2 separate regions of the Homo sapiens genome follow, and region 1 is linked to region 2. The links are contacts of gene promoters, found by promoter capture Hi-C in blood cells and fetal thymus (Javierre and others, 2016). All regions are on one chromosome and are shown on one strand. Each heading gives the region's core, a stretch centred on a gene start or on the middle of the fragment in contact. The rest is flanking DNA. Distances are from core to core; before and after follow the strand shown.

The links. Contacts are between HindIII fragments. The CHiCAGO score rates a contact against its expected background, and 5 or more counts as called.
Region 1: a fragment that was not itself captured here is called in contact with the fragment with the promoter of CDHR1 in region 2 in 1 of 17 cell types (neutrophils); the score reaches 6.1 in neutrophils.

What each region holds. Positions count from the first base shown.
Region 1 is chr10:84,514,784-84,522,523 of GRCh38, reverse strand. It overlaps CCSER2 (coiled-coil serine rich protein 2), which reads right to left. Exons shown (of 10, transcript NM_001284240.2): 10 at 4,007-7,740. Among named protein-coding and RNA genes, the nearest start is that of CCSER2, 190 kb to the right of the region's middle. The HindIII fragment of the contact is 3,492 bases long and covers 4,260-7,740 here.
Region 2 is chr10:84,192,415-84,197,413 of GRCh38, reverse strand. It overlaps CDHR1 (cadherin related family member 1), which reads right to left and starts at 2,877. Exons shown (of 17, transcript NM_033100.4): 1 at 2,599-2,877; 2 at 1,825-1,920; 3 at 764-909. The coding sequence starts at 2,653. RefSeq lists silencers at 2,662-2,781, 2,852-2,981. The HindIII fragment of the contact is 5,936 bases long and covers 1-4,988 here.

The sequences.
Region 1 (7,740 bases), core at 4,756-7,255, 320 kb before region 2:
ACATCATCCCATGATGACAAAGACCACTCATTAAATCTGTGGCAAGGGAGATTAATTATTGGATGCCTATACGCCAGGTGCCTTACAAATGTTGCCTGGGCAACAGAAATGACCCTGTTATTAAACACACAGACATACACATGCAATTTTGATTATAAGAGCATAGTCTCACCATTTTTAAAAAACAGAAAATATATAAAAAGATTAAAAAATGGCCAATAATTCAGCCATTAAGAAGTTATTCTTTTATATAGGTATTTATAAGCATATATGTATTCACATTGTACTACATTCATGGATTCGTAAATTTGCTTTTGTCCTCAGTTGTAATATGAATATTTTGAATAAATATTGTTATACATATTTTGAGTAAATATTCCCCAAGAGCATTAGCTGACTGTGGCATCATCTTGTCATATAAATAATGTAATCATTCTCCTACTGTCAGACTTTTTTTTTCCAATGCTCCACTCTTTTAAACAGTTCTTTGCATGTAAAGGTATGTAAGTAGCACGCCATTCTGTTTTGCATCTCTTTGACTAATAGCAAAAATCATTAATTTGTTCTGTTATATTGGCCCTTTGTACTTTGGTGGTTTGTTCTGTGACTTCAGTAATGCTTCTTGTAATATTCACAAATAGTTCTAAGTCCATGGTCTCCTTTGCTTCCCCCTTGAATTCTTTACGAGCTCTGAAAGGCAGGAAAGCACTGTGTGCTCTGCTTTCCTTCCCTTAGTTGAAATTTTTCTTAGAATGAGAGTAGTCAGACCAAGGACCAGGGTTCTGAGTGCCCAGGTCTGGCCCAAACCCTTTCCCAAACACCTCCTGTGAGCTCTGACTAGTCCTGAATCTTTGAACCTGGTGGAGGCGGCCCCTGGCAGCAGGGAGTTTAGAGCATCTGTGTTTGCATCTCAGCAAAACTCTGGAACACAATTTAAGAAACCATTTGCATTAACAATCCATCACAACTCCTATTACTTTTGTTTTTCATTGCAATTCACATTTGCACTTGACCTACTATAAATGCAAAACCTCAGCTAAAACTTGTGAAAATTTTTTAAATTCCTGATAATTCAGAAGTATTTTGAACTGATACGTGCTTAAAAAGGCCTCAGGTTCGTGGAATGTATCGTTACCACTACAGGTTATGTGATAGTGGCCTAGTTTTTATTTAGCTGTAATTAAAAAGAAATCCTAACACACATGCACATTTGTCAAGGATGAATGGTTTTGGAAGCGAGTTCACCTGTGGTCCCAAACGTCCCCTTCCTGCCCACTGGCTCTCTTACAGTGCTTTGTTTGGGATCCTTCTTGTCATGTTGCAATTTGATCTCTTCAATCGCAGGGTCTCCGTCTCATCCACCTCCTGCCACGAGACAGAAACGAGGGCTGTGCACAAAACAAGCATTTCAACCATGTTTCTTGTGGGGAATAGTTACCTTTCACTTTAGTAGACTGATATTTCAGGTATACTTTTGCTGCAGAAAGCATTTGTTCTGTAATCACTTAAAGTATTACCAAAGGATTATTCATACTCAAAATGGGTGTCTGAATGAATTCATGTGAGGATTAAGGAGTGGGTTGTTTTGAGATCTGGAAAGTAGCAATACCATTTTTCAGGTTGAGAAACCAGAGAAGTGCCTGTGAGGAACTGTTTCTTCCTCTCTGATTTTTGCACAGAAAAGATGCTAATTTGAGGGCTGTGTGCATGGGTGGGTGGGAGAATTCATCAGTGAGGAAAAGGCTTCTCTGGATGACCTAAATTCCTCCTTAGAGACTCCATGGCAAGAAATGGTAGGAAACCAGCAACAACATGAATGAAACTGGAGGTCATTATGTGAAATAAGCCACATACAGGAAGACAAATGTTGCACATTCTCACTCATGTGGAAGATAAAAAAGAAATGATCTAACAGAGGTAGAGAGTAGAATAGTGGTTACCAAAGGCTGGAAAGGGTGGTGGGGAGGTGGGATAAAGAGGGGATGGTTAATGGGTACAAAAATACAGTTAGAATGAATAGGACCTAGTGTTCAGTAGCACAGTACAGTGACCATAGTTAACAATAATTTATTGTATATTTCAAAATAACCAGAAGAGTAGTATTGAAATATTCCTAGCACAAAGAAATAAATGAGGCAATGGATATCCCAATTACACAGATTATAGTGTATGCTTGTATCGAAATAACAGGTATTTAATAAATATGTATAATTATTATATATCCATAAAAATTAAAAATTAAAATAGAAACTGAAAACATCAAGTAGACCATATTATATTTGATCTATCCAAGAGAATGGGATGGAAGGAAAAGCCCGGACATGAATTTGAATGTTAAAGGTAGACTTCAGAAAGCAACATCTTATGGGTTGAGGTTCTAAAAGGGACAGTGGCCTTAGGATAGTCGAGAAGTCTTAAAATCAAATTCCAAGAACCTAAAGTAGAAAGCAGAGTATTTAATAGTGGCTAAAGAGGAAGTTCGTTCTTGGATAAAATAATAAAAGGCCAGGTTTTCTAGGGAAATGAAGGCATGCAACCAAACAAGAATAAACATAATATAGAATCCAAGAGGAGAATAGTGCAAGGGAGTTAAAGCCCAGAATGAAATGAAACTGAAGAGGAAACGTCAAAAGAGACTGGTAGGTTCAAAGGAAGATAATAAACAGGGAATGCAAGGGAAGGGCTCAGTGCTGCAATGGATCGGATGATGTTAAAAATCCCCTAGGGTTCCTAAGCTCCATAAGGCAGAACCTGTATCATCGTTACCTTTGTACACCCTGCAGCCAGCACAGCAAGTGACACAGGTAAGACATCCCATCAAACTTACTTAAACCAAGTTAACAGAGGAAGAAGTCAATTCTTTAACTCATGCTTGTCTTTTCTGTAGGGATAAAATATTTTCACAATGGAAAACGCGCAATCAACAGCATAAATGAAGAAACTGAAATGACTACACTTAATGACAAAATTAAAAGGGAAAATTTTTAGTATAAGAAAGTACTTGCTAATGATAGATGCAGAAGGCCAATAAGGGGGAGGGTCCTCAGAGAATCTCCAACCAGCTTGTGCACTGGGAGAACTGGGTGGAGCCACGGGAAGTTCCAGCCTTGGGCAGGAGGGAAGAGCCTGAGCTCTTCAGCTCACATGTGTGGTGGCCTGGAACTTATCTGTGAGGTGGGGGCCTGTTAGCAGGATTCCCCCCTTGCTTTGCTGAGTTTTTTTTTCCTTTTTGCCCAATGAATTCCATTCCCCACACACTTCAATGTGTCCATGTGTCTACATTTTCCTGGTCCTGACACAAGAACCCCGATTTAGCCGACCTAAGGAGCAAAATTCTGCAACACTAAGAACTCAGATGGCCTTAAAGTTCATACAGGTGTCTTAAGAGGTAATAAGTGCTATTATCAAACTATTAATAAAATTTCCCTCCTTTCCCAGAATTCGTGTAAACATTTTGGATTAATAACATACCACTGCATCAACTTTTTTGTCTCTTATTACGGGACTATCGCATCTGACTAAACTGTAAAACTGAAAAAATATATATTCCTTACTCCTTTTGTTCCTAAAAATTATGTAAAATTTCACTAAACACCTTTCTTGCCTCAAGCTATTTTGTATACTGCTTAAAAACAATGACAAAATAATTAAAATTACAAGTGTTTTCTTCCTTGTACAGCATTCTAAATCCAAGGTGCTAATGTTTCTTGAAATGTCCATTAACCATTATCCCAATATTCTAAGATAAAGCAGGTATTTTATTACAATGGAAACGAAAGTACTAGATCTCTTACAGAATTTGTGAAGACACAACAACAAAATACTGATCAACTCCTACTCAATCAGGGCTTGGGGTGTCAAGATGTGTGTGAAGGCAGCATGTAAAATAAAGTATCAGAGTTGGGAAAAACATAAGCAAATGAACAGTATCTTAGATCTTTGTGGGAAAAAAGATATCAAAGAAAAAGCAAACTATGGGAGTCAATGTTGAGAAAGACAAGAGAACTTTTATAATTATGAACTTTATTTTTATTTACTATGCCAACATTTTCAGGAGAGACTTTACATCTGCTTTTTAGAATTCATTTTACAGGCAAATTCTAATATACAGTTTGTACTCTAAACTGACTTAAAATCAATGGGAAAAACAATACTGCAGATATTATTTTTGCTCTTTGTTAGTAATGACTTAGAGACCTTACATTCTCGGGTATTATTTTGTTAAGTAAACGCTTTACCAAGGAGAAAGTGGGTAAGCTTATTCCCAACAAGATTAAAACATGTATCTTCAGTTAATGACATAGTTGTAGATTGGTGCCCACCATCAGAATCATTTAATCAAAAGTACTCTCTCAAATTGCTGCAGCAAAAACTTAAAGGGAGATGTGAAAAATCACTAGAAAATAGAATTCAAGCATCAGAATTTAAAAAGGAACAAGGCCATCATCCCCAAGGAAAAACATCGGGTAGTACAGCTATAATTAATTTTCAAATGTGTGCTTAAGCATGCAAACATAACCACCCAAACGAATTTAAAAACACAAAAACTACTGGGTAAGATGGAAAGTAAATTGAAATGGTGCTGCAGCCTTATTGATCTTAATTGCAAGCCTGTTCGGTGATTTCAAAGTACATCCCCAGTGCCCTAGAGACCAGGAAACCAGTATGACAACTCTGCTCAGAAACCAAGAGTGCACCTCAGTGTCTGTAACACCATTTATGCTACAGGAACATTTGGAAGTGACAGCTGTAGGGGGATCACGCTCTCTCTGATGTACTGAGAAAAAAGTAAAATACTTATCGGAACAATGGAACATTCAAAGAAAACTTAGTGCTTTAATGGAAAAGTGACATGCTGGGAATATATTTCTGTGAACAGCTGTACTGATATCTTCAAACAGCAACAATTACAAATTTATTTCAACAAAGCCACACCCAATAGGAGGCAATTCGATATTTCAGGCACAACTTCAAGCAATTAAGCTCATTTAAAGTGCAAATCTGATATTTTCTTTCATATTCAGATTTTTACTTGTTAAAGTACTTAGTAAATTCTAATATATATATAAATACAATGAACAGTAGCCTATATGCCTGAAAATATTGCACAAATAAAAATGAGACTCCAAAAGAAAAATGTTAGATGGTCTCAGTTATTAGAAACAGTCTAAATGACATAACTCTATAATCCTTTAATGCCTTAAAATCATCTGCACCTGTACCAATAAACTCCTTAGGCCAAGCCTTCTTTTAAAAATTTGATATGCATCCCATTAACAGCCAAATATCAAAGTCTGAATACTCTACTAATTTCCTCTTTCACGAATGTGAAACTTAACAAACCCCATAAAATTTCTTCCTCAGGACTTAGAATTCATATACTGTAACTATCTTCATTGATACCACTAGAACTAAGACAATAAATGGTTTGTGGAGGAGGATTTGGCACAGAGTTGATTTACATTAATAGAAGCAATAAACACAGATCAAGCCAAATCTAAGATGATCTTTGATTATTCAGTAGAGTTACATCCTCACTTCCATTTCAGACTTAACATTTACTAAGAAGCAGACAAGCATGATATTCTTGCAGTTTTTAATGAAAACTGCAGGCAAATACTTTATGTCATGCAAGCATCCTAGATTTGTTTTCTTTTAATATATTATGCTTCATAAATATACGATAAGCCTATCTTCTAAAAGATTAAGACTCAACAAAGGTAGAGAAAAGTTGAGCTAATTGGTTAACATTTCTGCAAATCCATCAGGGAAGGAAAAAATAGAGAAAAATGGAGTAAATACATGGAGGAAAAAATAGAGAAAAATAAATTACTGGAGTCAACATTTTTATGTAATGGACAATAAAGACATTTCCCTCAGACTAGGGAATTAAAAATAAATTTAAAAATTTAGAACTTTTCCCTTAAGGATAAGGCCAACTCGTAAATAATGTTTCATAAGGGTCTAAACCAACTTCTAAATAAACCAAAAACCACTAAGTCACTGGTTTTACTTTAGGGGAATATAGTATGATTCACATATTTGCAACATGTGAGAACGGTTTTCTTTCTCCTTCAAAATGATAGAACATGTATGCCCACTTACAACTGCAGCCATCATGGGTCATCTCCATAACAAAGTGCTTTGCTGATTTGCCTGACTCTAACAGTATCTGGACTATGTGAAGAACGTTCTGAACTTCACTGCTTCTCCATCAGAAGTGCTGGTACATAAGAGTATGGTACAAGATTTGTCTTGCTCACCTCTTACCAAATCCAAGAATGGTTTCTATCCAGTGAATGGCAAATTCATCTGATAGGTAAGGGAATAATGGGTCAAAATGGTAGCAAACACTTCTTTCAAATTTCTACTAAAAGACTTGCTGTTGTTTTTCTTATAAAGGGGCAATTTCATCAACATACATCTTTTAAAGGAATCTCTAGAAATTTGAGTGACTTTTTGGCCATAATCCTGTTTGATATATTTTTGGTCAGCTGCTCAAAACAAACATTCTCCTTGTAAGGTTATCTATCTGAAAGATACTAATTCATTTAAAGCAGCTGCAGGTGAACAACCTAAAGATGACATGATTTGGGAGAAGAGGAAGGCAGATTTACTGAACTGACAAGTGACCCAAAGCATAATTAGGTTTGTGCACATGGTAGCATGGAGGTTCCACACCTACCTTCTACAGCGTATTAAAATAAGAATATTGTCTTTGAAACATCTTCTAGCACCTTTTTAATAAAACAAAATTTCCCATCTTCAATTCTATTTTTTTCCCAAATCTACCTTTAAAAAATTGTCTTTCAAAAATACACCATAGACGAGGTGGGTGGATCACTTGAGGTCAGGAGTTCGAGACCAGCCTGACCAACAAGGTGAAATCTCATCTCTACTAAAAATACAAAAAAATTAGCCAGGCATGGTGGCACATGCCTGTAGTCCCAGCTACTCAGGAGGCTGAGGCAGGAGAATCGCTTGAACCCGGGAGGCAGAAGTTGCAGTGAGCCGAGATTGCGCCACTGTAATCCAGCCTGGGCAATGGAGCAAGACTCTGTCTCAAAAAACAAACAGAAAAAAACAAAAAACACAGAAAAGGGAAACCTAGGAGACTGGAGATGGGGGAGGGGGAGAATATTATGAACTCCAGCTTTCTCAAGATAGTCTTATTTAAATTTGTTATTTTTCTCAAAATATTTTAACTTGTTTTGCTATAGAAAATAGTTTACAATCCCTATATATGGTATATTTATACCCCATCAAAGTTTTGTGCAAATGTTTCAAGTTCATTATTTCAGTCTTCAGATATTAGCAGAAAATCAATAAATATAAATATTACAATTAAAGACATAATGCTGTGGAACCTTAAAATGGCTATCATGGATCCACAAGCCTAAGGGTTCAAGCCTGAATTACCAGCAAAACTCTAGCACCAACATATGTTACAAATGAATACATCTTTAGGTACAGGTTTCAAGGTGTATCTCAAGCGCTCCAAAATTTACCCAGTAACAAATACAAACATAAATGGTATGTGTGTGTATATGTGTGTGTGCATGCACATGTGTTTGTAAAACAAGATGTAAAGGAATATATAACTGATTTATATGTAATAAGAAACACTTTCAGTCTGGGGAATTTGGGAAATGAATCAACAGTAACATTAGCTGACTGACCCTGGCAAGGAAAAATAAAACTTACATAGACTTTCCATTAAAAGCCTAATCTCCTTTATTC
Region 2 (4,999 bases), core at 1,628-4,127:
ACACCTCTCCACATTCCAGGGCTCTGCAGAGGCTCACATCCATGGTGTCTCAGTGCTCCCAGGATATGGTGAGACCTCAATGGGGAAGGGTATCGGATGTTGCCAGATCCCGCGGGTGCCAGGGAGTGGGGTACTGGCAGCACAGTCAGGCTCCACTGCTGTGTCCCCACAGCAGTCCCTGAGACCTCCCTTTCCTTTCTCTACCCTGTCCTGCAGCTAGTGGAGGCTGTCACGAGCTGGCAGCATCCCCACAGCTGAGGTCCAGTTAGCCACACACCAGGCTGCTATGCGGTCTGAAAAAGCCCATGCCCTGTTGCCTGCAAGTTCTCAAGTGTGTAGAGTGGAGGAGCTCTGCCAAACTCAGACTCACTGCCAACCACCCTTTCCAGCCTTGACCTGCTCTGAGTTCCTGTGCCTCTCCCAGGACAGGCTTGAAAAATCACTTTGTGAGGTTTCTTTCAGAAACCTCAAAGTGCAAACGGATTTATTTTTAATGGAACATGCTTAAAAGATTAGCAGGGCTGGCAGGTGCTCGTTAAAGGAGCCCACTCTTCGCTCTGTGTGAAGGAGGAGCATGAAAGTAAAGCCCACTCTGCTGATGGGAAGTGGCCCAGAGATCTCACAGAGTGGATGTGCCTGGGGTGTGCCCCCTCATCCCCTACTCTGTGGAGAGGTTCTAACCAATGTGCTCCAGGGGAACTTCAGCCCACCGAGGTCTGTCTACAGGCAGTGGCCCCGCAGCACTCCCCACACCTCCCCATACCTCTCTGTCCAGCTCTTCAACCAGGGTGATGTTTCCAAAAGTGGGGTCAACAGAAAAGACGCTTCTAGTGCTGGGGTCAAAGCTGATGTGGTAGGAGATGGGGTCTCCCTCAGGGTCTGTCCCATTCAGGGTGTATACGTGAGAGCCTGGAAGGAAACACAGTGGAGAGACATAGAATCTGAGACCCAACTTTTCCTAAAAGTGGCAGATGCTCAGGACCAACGATTCAGCTGTTTATAAAGTGACTATTCAACTCAGTGCCAAAGGTACTGCCCTGAACTTGGTGCTCATTGCTGGCCTCACCCCTGCTGGCTGCTTCCCTCTTTGTATGTTTATTCTTCACAGCGGGTGGTTGTGATGATCAGCCACTTTCCAGATTGTAATCTATAACACGGGTTACAGAGCAGGTGCAGGTCTGCCGTGCCTAACTGTAGTGCCTATGTTCTGCTCAGCCTGGTAATAACTCCTCTCTCAGGATCCAAGATTGAGGGGCTCCTGGGTACAGGGAAGGGGAAATGGGAGCAGCCATTAAGGCAGGAGGGGTGACCCACAGTGCACCACTGTCCCCGATGCCTGGACCTGGTTCTGCAGGGATTTCTGAGCCAGGTGCCTACTTTGCTCTGCTCTCCCTTTTCCCCGGGTTCCCACTACCCACAAAGTGAGGGAGAAGGAGTGTGAAATCTCCCCTTTCTCCTCCCCTCTCTCTGCATATCTCAGCAAGTTGGATGTTCTTAGGCCGTTTTAAAGCCTAGAGACCTGGGGCTCAGGGAGGTAAATACATTTGTTCAAGGTCACACAGCCATAAGGGGCAGCTGTAGCTGCCTGCCTCGCGGGGCGACCCTGTCTGTGGGGGGGAGCCCTGGTCTCCAGGACTGGCCAGACTTAAGTCGCCATGGCAGCAATGACCTTCTTTCCTGCCATTGCCCAGGGGAATTCGGAGAGCAAACAAGGAGCCCCCGGGCGCGCGCAGCAACTTGGGTGGTGCCTGGGGCACTTTGTGTTCTAAGTCTGCCTGCACCCCTCAGGGAGACCTATCGGGAGCAGGTGCCAGGGCTACTCACCTACAGGGGTGTCCTCTGGGAGGCTGAACAGAGCCATGTTTCCGTTGGTGCTGCCGACCCCGTTGTCGAAGAAGTGCGGGGCGAAGTTGGCCTGAGCTGGAAAAAGAACACAGAACAGACGGACACCCAGGCAAAGGACACCCAGACACCAGGAGGGAGCTTCGCACCAGCGCGGTCCCGCGTCAGGCCCAGCTACTGGGCAGGAGGGCGCTCCGCCTCCCCAACCCAAGTGCACCGAGGGACCCCACTGGGGCGCCGCCCAGAGGATGCCCCTGACCCCCACTCCGCCCCCGGTGGGCTCGGGCTTGTCAGGGACACGTAGCATGTGGGCGCTTAGAACCCAGGTAGCAATCCAACCCCTCCTTCATCAATGGGCAGATTGCACCCGCGCTCGGAGAGGGGCAGTGCCCCAGCCCAGCCAAGGTCAAGCCGCGAGTCAGGGCACTATCTCCTGCCCCACGCAGCATCGGAGCTGCCACCAAGCCTACAGCTCTGGTTCCCAGCAAGCGGAGAGCAGCGGGGGTCCGGGCGCCAAACCCTGGGGCCCTAGGATGCCAGCTCTGGAGAAGCGCCCCGGAGCTCCCCACTACTCCGCTACCCCACTCCCCACTACCGAATGGGCCAGGAAGATGGAAGGACTTCTCCGCTCCCGTCCACCAGCCCGAGTCCCACTCTGGAAGTGGTCCAGGACCATGTCCCTCTGGCCACCTGGGTGACGCCAGCGCCCATCTCCCTCGCCATCCACGCGGCCAGCGCGGCCCAGCGGCCACTCACCCAAGCAGAGGCGCAGCAGCCCCAGGGCCAGGGCGGCCCACCGGCAGCGCCTCATGTCTCCGCCGGCGCGGAGTGTCGCCTGCCGCCGCCGAGACCGGGCGCAGGGGCACGGAGCATGCCCTGGGCCCGCGGGGAGGGCAGAGACCACAATGGGGGTAGCGGCGACTGCAGCCGCGGCGGGAGGGGGCACGGGGCGGGAGCGGCGGGTGGCGTGAGGGCGCTAAGAGGATGACACGGCTCGGATCTGCTCCTGCCGGCCGCCTGACGAGACCAATTAGCGGCGCAGAGCGGAGCGACAGGCTCCCAGCCGCGGGCGGGGGCAGGAGGGCGTGACAAGAGGACTCCCCGCCCGCCACGCCCCCTTTGCCGGCGGCCCCCAGTCCTGGACAGGAGGACACCATGGGGGACAGGAGTGTCTTTCCCCCAAGTTGTCCTGAGGCTTTCCCAGGGTACTTAAGTCCTGGTGGGGCTTGGGCTTCGCAGTTTTCTTTTCTCATCAACTTCCTCTGTGACTTTCAGGGGCTTAGCTGTCTTCTCTGAGCTAAGCATTCCAGAAGAAAAGTTAGTGGAGCGGCCGAGAGGGCCTTGCCTTAGCAGTCTAAGCAGGTTCTATAAGCCGCGTGAGACCAAAGGCAAAGAGAAAGGGTGATGGATGGGCAGCAGATGGTAAGGGGTTATCAGGACCCCCTCTCTGTGATCTCAACCCATTCCTGCCCTGTTCCCCAGGCTGGACCACCTCTCCCAAAGGGTCTGATCTGTGTGGTGGGCAGCAGGGAGGACCCTCAGGTGTCCACCAGGGTGAGAGGCAGTTCTGCTCCCCATTCCCAGTCAGTGCCCAGTCTGGGACCATGAAGGGGCAGCTGACCCACTCTTCAAACCTTCCAAGGAAGAGTGAAGGGCCTGAAGGCAGAGTTAAGCCCCATCTTAGGACAGACTTGCACAGAGCTGGCCAAGATAGATCTGAACTGCCCGAGAGGCACGAGATCTCATTCCTAGAGGGTATTTACACAAAGCAAGGCACTGCTATTGGGGTCCTGGATGCTGATAACTTGAAGACACAGGTAAGCCCAGGAACCTTTTTGGCTGCTGGTAAAGCTCCTTGGGCTTCCTCGTTCTCCTGCTCTGACACTGGAGGGTGCTTGGAAATGCAGCCTGTTTTCCTTTTCCTGGTTGGGCCATTTATGGGGGTACAGGTCACTTCAAGCCCAAGCCAGGCCACTTCCCAGGATGCCCTTGGGTGGATGTGTTCTCAGATAGAGGAGATCCCTCCTCTGTGTGCTCCTGGGAGAGGTCTCCACAGCTGAGGACTCAGCATTCCCCCCCTCCCCCTGCCAGGGGCCTTTGAGGGAACAGAGCACCCCCCATCCCTTGGTCTAGCCCTACATGATCTACTGTGAGCAAGGGTCAGGGATTTGCAGAGAAGAAGGAAGATGAATCAATGGTTTTAGAATGTGCAGCAGTTTTCAGGCCTAATTGGCCGAAACCCTTGTTGAGTCTCCTTAGGCTTGGCTCTTTTGCTGAAAAGACACACTTTAAATTGCACAGATGTTCTGAATCTGCCTCCCAAAGTGCTGGGACAAAGCTAAGGCAAGTATTCTGCAAGTCCCATATAGGGATGTGGAGACTGAGTCTTGCCGTGGATTTCCCAGGAGCCAGAGGCAGAGCCAAGGTTTCCTGGAGTAGATGTCTTGGTGGGCCGAGAAAAGCCAGCTCTCCCTGGGTCCTGTTAGCCCTGCTCCTCACCAATCTAGGGCCGTTGATTTCTCTCTCCTCAGTTCCCTCAGTCAACAGCCATGCACTGGAGAGGGAAGGGGAAGGAGTAGCCTACATGCCATGTGCTGTATGTGTGCTTATGTATATTTGCCCATATTATCTTATTTGACCTGCACTGCTCTCCCAATGTGATTTTCTCTGCTTTGCAGAGGAGGGAGATTTCCTCATTGGCTGTGTACGACCAAGCAAGTGACTTATTCTCTCTGAGGTGCAGAGCTTGGATTCACATACAGTTTGGGTTGGCTCCAAAGAAGGTTCAAACTCTTTTTTTTTTTGAGCTGGAGTCTCACTCGGTCACCCAGGCTGGAGTGCAATGGCGGATCTCAGCTCACTGCAACCTCTGTCTCCTAGGTTCAAGTGATTCTCCTGCCTCAGCCTTTCAAATATTGGCATTACAGGTGCACGCCACCATGCCCAGCAAATTTTTTTTCTTTTTTTTTTTTTTGGTAGAGACGGGGTTTCACCATGTTGGCCAGGCTAGTCTTGAACTCCTGACCTCAGGTGATCCACCCATCTTGGCCTCCCAAAGTGCTGGGATTACAGGCATGAGCCACTGTGCCCGCCTGGTTCAAACCCTTTTCATGGCAGAAGAAGATGATCTTGAATCTACTGAAGCTTCAGCTTCTAG